Linked DNA regions of Homo sapiens: region 1 is linked to region 2. The links are contacts of gene promoters, found by promoter capture Hi-C in blood cells and fetal thymus (Javierre and others, 2016). All regions are on one chromosome and are shown on one strand. The core of a region is centred on a gene start or on the middle of the fragment in contact, and the rest is flanking DNA. Distances in the headings are between cores, read along the strand shown.

Evidence for each region. The method cuts DNA at HindIII sites, captures the fragments that hold promoters and counts their contacts. A CHiCAGO score of 5 or more calls a contact.
Region 1: a fragment that was not itself captured here is called in contact with the fragment with the promoter of CCL28 in region 2 in 4 of 17 cell types (erythroblasts, M1 macrophages, M2 macrophages and 1 more); the score reaches 8.4 in erythroblasts.

What each region holds. Positions count from the first base shown.
Region 1 is chr5:43,150,343-43,153,042 of GRCh38, reverse strand. All of the region lies in intron 4 of ZNF131 (zinc finger protein 131), which reads right to left. Among named protein-coding and RNA genes, the nearest start is that of ZNF131, 31 kb to the right of the region's middle. The HindIII fragment of the contact is 9,324 bases long and covers 1-2,700 here.
Region 2 is chr5:43,411,009-43,413,708 of GRCh38, reverse strand. CCL28 (C-C motif chemokine ligand 28) reads left to right here and starts at 1,318. Exons shown (of 3, transcript NM_148672.3): 1 at 1,318-1,456. The coding sequence starts at 1,393. The HindIII fragment of the contact is 1,630 bases long and covers 809-2,438 here.

The DNA of each region.
Region 1 (2,700 bases), core at 148-2,647, 260 kb after region 2:
ATGAAAGGTCTGCATAAGAGGAGGGGATGACTGGAAAAGAGGTGAAGGAGGAATGACAATCTTGCCATCTAGGGAGAGAAACATCTTACGACTCCAGAAGATATAGGGCAGGGAGGGACAATAATCTTTGTCAAGCTGGGTGTGGTGGCTCACACCTATAATACCAGCACTTTGGGAGGCTGAGGCGGGAGGATCGCTTGAGTCCGGGAGTTTAAGAACAGCCTGGAGAACATAGTAAGACCCCATCTCCACAAAAAATTATAAAAGATTAGCTGGGCATGGTGGCACATGTCTACAGTCTCAGCTCCTTTGGGAGGCTGAGGTGGGAGGATCATCTGAGCCTGGAAAGTTACAGCTGCAGTGAGCTGTGATTGCACCACTGCACTCCAGCCTGGGTGACACAGTGAGACCCTGTCTCCAAAAACAAAACAAAACAAACCACCTTTGTCTTTCAGAACTGCCCCTAGAACCTTTCAAATTAAGAAAAATGCTCAGTTGCAGGTCTCTCCAATGGCTATAAGCATTTTTAAACTGACTGCTGTGTTTGCCATTCCCTGCCAAGTGGTTTCCCTTAACTTTACCAACATATCTTCTAAAAACAGCTGGGGATGACTCCTGTGTGTCGCAGGCAAAACACCATGCTCCACTACCATTCTCATAGCTGAGATCAGTCCATGAGGTGGACAGTTACTACTCAAGTCAGCTGGCATTCAGGAGCTTGTGATAAATAGGACAGACTCGGCTGGGAGTGGTGGCTCACACCTGTAATCCCAGCACTTTGGGATGCTGAAGCAGGCGGATCACTTGAGGTCGGGAGTTCGAGACCAGCCTGGCCAACGTGGTGAAACTCCGTCTCCACTAAAAACACAAAAGTTAGCTCAACCTAGTGGCACGTGCCTGTAGTCCCAGCTACCGGGGAATCTGAGGCAGGAGAATCACTTGAACCTGGGAGGTAGAGGCAGTGAGCCAAGATCATGTCACTGCACTCCAGCCTGGGCGACAGAGCGGGACTCCATCTCAATAAATAAATAAATAAATAAATAGGAAAGAAGTCAACTGACTGTCCTGTCCTCAGTCTCTCCAAAAACTAGAACTAGACTGAATCATTCTAATTGAACTGGGAAAGGAGACTACATTGGAGGCTATATCAATCTGTGCCTCTACACTGATGCAGGTTCGTGCCTACTTTGGAGGCACGAACAATTGCAAATAGTACTTTCCTTTCAGGGTTCCTATGTGCCCCTGGGACTGTGCTTCTTGTGTGGAAGCCAGGTACTAATTTCCTTGCCTCACAAAAATACGATGACTGGCAAGGCGCGGTGGCTCGTCCCTGTAATCCCAGCACTTTGGGACTCCGAGGCAGGTGTGTTACTTGAGGTCGGGAGTTGGAGACCCGTCTGGCCAACATGGAGAAACCTCATTTCTGCCAAAAATACAAAAATTAGCAGGGTGAGGTGGCAGGTGCCTGTAATCCCAGCTACTAGGGAGGCTGAGGCAGGAGTATTGCTTGAGCCCAGAAGGCAGAGGTTGCAGCGAACTGAGATTGCGTCACTGCACTCCAGCCTGGGCACAGAGTGAGACTCCGTCTCAAAAAAACAAAACAAAACGAAACAAAATGACGACTTACACCTAAGAGGTGGTTATAAGAGACCATCAAGTGTTTAAGGAAGATCAAGCAGCCCTCGGGTGACTGTGGAGGTCTCATTTAAGGATACTCTTGGTTAGAAATTCTCAAAGGGATGCTTCCTAGAATAATAACTGACTTATTTATGCACATCCCGTGGGCAGTTTTCCCTAATAGGAGTAATCCAATTAAAAAAGTGGTACAACATTGTGCATGACTTAAGCTGATATGTTCACTGATATCACTTGGGCTCTGGAAGGCATTTATGTCAGCTTCAAGCCACTGGGGCCAGGTTTATTATGAATGAAAAACTTGCCCTAGTAGACATCCTCCCTATGGGACAATGTGGAGCCTGTATAATTGTAAAGCATCTTGCTATACTTAGACTAATGCCCAGGGCTAAGTGGAAAAGTCAATACAGAAACCGAAAAAGAAAGTCACCTGTTTTTCTAGGGATTTGTTCAGTTGGCTGAGTCCAGAATGAACCTTAGTGTGGTGGGTGCATGATTAAGGTCAACACGGCAGGGTGCCCAAATCCTGCTGCTTGAAGTTCTGTTGACTTCAATAAATCCTTAAATAAATCCAGTAGGAGAAAAACTGAATGGATTAGGTCCTGGTCCCTGTGTTTTTTGTTTGTTTTTGGGACAGAGTTTCACTCTTGTTGCCCAAGCCAGAGTGCAATGGCGCGATCTCAGTTCACTGCAGCCTCAGCAATTCTCCTGCCTCAGCCTCCTGAGTAGCTGGGATTACAGGCATGTGTCACCGTGCCCAGCTAATTTTTTTGTATTTTTAGTAGAAATGGGGTTCCACCACGTTAGCCAGGCTGGTCTCGAACTCCTGACCTCAGATGATCCGCCCGCCTCGGCCTCCCAAAGTGCTGGGATTACAGGCATGAGCCACCGCACCCAGCCAGGTCCTGGTCCCTACGGTCAGATTAATCAGAGCGGCTAAAGAAGTGCTGTACTTATGGGGAAAATTCAGTACCAGCCAGGATAATACAGAAACAAGGATATGGAACAAGACAACTCTCCATGGATACTCATAATGTTTCTGCATGTCTTATAAACAAAGACATT
Region 2 (2,700 bases), core at 69-2,568:
CAAGGCTCCAGTGATTTCAGTTTCTATTTCCAAGATGATGCCACTTTGCTGCATCTTTTGGAGAGAAGGAGCATTGTGTACTCACCTGGCAGAAGAGCAGAAGGTACCAACCCATTCCCACAAGCCCTTTTTATAGTAGCATTCATCCATTCATGAGGGTGGAGCCATCATAACCTAAACATTGTCCATTAGGCCCTATCTCCCAGCACTATTAGGGATTAATTTTCAACATGAGCTTTGGAGAAGAAAAAAATATTCAAACCACAGCAGTAATTTGAAAACATAAAAAGAAATGGGTGAAATTAATTTTAATAATATATTTTATTTAACCCAAAAAGTCCAAAATACTATCATGTAATCAATAAACAGTATAAACATTATTAACAAGATATTTTATATTTTTTTCTGTACCCAGTCTTTGAAATCCAGTGTGAATTTTATACCCATAGTACATCTGAGTTTGGACTACTCATATTTCAAGTGCTCAAGAGCCACATGTGGGCTAGCGGCTACCACATAGGACAACACAGTTCTAGAGGAAGCATGGCATGACTTTGGAGGTCATCTAGTCTGACTTGTTATTTACAGCAAAGTTAAGTACGTTGCCTGAGGTTATACAACTTATTAGTAGATGAGGAACAATTAGAATCCAATTATCTTCATGCTACCCCATGCTTTTATTCACAAAGCTGATTGGCAGCAAAGCTGCACTAGCGCTCATGCCTCTTCACACCTGCTCTTGGGCTCTTTTCTACAAGGCATTGCCCCCCTTCCTGTCTTTCTCCTAAATAAGCTATTGTAAAAAGCTTCACTGGAAACAATTTGGCTGTGAACCAAGACTAAAGTGGGGTTTAATACTTCCATATCTTTCCACAAAGATACATTTTTTATGACTTGTCACCCTTGTCCCCAGAAACTCATGGTTTCCATAAGCTACTTAAAAACTGATTATGCAATGGGTCTCAACATAAGTGTCCATCAGAATCACCTATAGAGCTTTTACAAAATTCAAATGACTGGTCTCCTACCTGGGAGTTCTGGTTTACAAATCAGGGAAAGGGGAGAGTCATTTAGATTGATTTTTTTTAATGTTCCCCAAATGATTCTGATGCACACCCCACCTCACAGTGACCCTGCCAGCTGCCAGATCTCCATTGACATCCCCTGACCCCCAGGCAGGATGAACACAAGTTAGGAGCTTAATAAGTCGAGGAGGAGCCTGGTCTTAAGGAAAGAAACATGAGAAATAGATACCCTGAACACCTCCCAGGGCGGGGCCACCTGGCTTACTTTTCCTCTGCACTTTCTCTGTGCCCAAGGACACCTTTAGCCTCATTTCCTGATCGAACAGCCTCACTTGTGTTGCTGTCAGTGCCAGTAGGGCAGGCAGGAATGCAGCAGAGAGGACTCGCCATCGTGGCCTTGGCTGTCTGTGCGGCCCTACATGCCTCAGAAGGTGAGTGGGGGCACTGGACACTTAGGCCTTCACTGGAAAGGGGGGTATCTCCCAAATCTGTGCTGGAAGGATTGAGGTGGGGCAAGAATATCTATCTCTTCAAGCAGGAATTTCCAATTGATTTCTGATTACCTACAAGAGAATGACATAGCTTTAAATTCTAGATCTCCCAGAAGTTTCAGGAAGGAACCTCATTCTAACAGGCATACTACAAATTTTTGCCACCTGGAGGATGAGGTCCTTCCATGTAGGTACAACTTCGAGCTATGTTTCCTTTTCTGAAGACAGTATCTTAGAAAATCCCCAGCTAGAGGCTGGAGTAAAGCCCCTACTATTCATCTGTCTTCCTCCACACCCCAACCTGCTAAACGGTCTGAACACAACTGTGCACATTCCTGGAGGGAAATACAGACTTGGCCAGCTGCGTTCAAATTAGGTAAGTTGTAAATTTCCTGAGCAAAGTCAGCTCTATGGATACAGAAAACTGAAACTTCAGTCTGACCTTTAAAAAGGGAGGGCAGAGCTGAGCACAGTGGTGCATGCCTGTATTCCCACCTACTTGGGAGGCTACGGCTGGAGGATAGCTTCAGGCCAGGAATTCAAGATTGCAGTGAGCTATGATCACACTGTGAATTGCCACTGCACTCTGAATTGCCACTGCACTCCAGCTTGGGCAACATAGTAAAACCCCATCTGTTAAAAACAAAAAGAGGGGAGGGGAGGGGAAAGAGAAGGAAAGGAAGAAAGGAAAGGAAAGAAAGAAAAAGAAGAAAAGCAGGATGAGGGAGATTGAACCATACAAATTATGTCAAAGAGAATTTAAATCGTGAGTTGCTAGCATGTATTTGGAGATTGTAACTGCATTTGAACTAGAGGGAATCTCTTCTAAAGTAGCACTCACTACTATATTCAGGAAACCCTAAGTGTCAGTACTTAATACTTGACCAATGACTCTTTTCCATTGTCATCTTTTCTTTAAGCTTTATCCTGAACAGATTCTCTAAGTCTAGAGCAGAGGTGGAATATAAGTCTTTGGTCTGCTTTTTAAAAATCTGAGCCAACATTTTAAAACTGAAAGCTTTCTCATGTACATACTCATACATACACACATACAAATTGGATTTTAAAGCTTCTCTTGAGAAATCAGATGTGGCAACAATGATTCCACCATACCATGGCAAGAACTGGCTAAAGCAGATGAGCCTCTGAAGTTTGCTGTATTAACTGCCTGGTCCCTGCAGGCA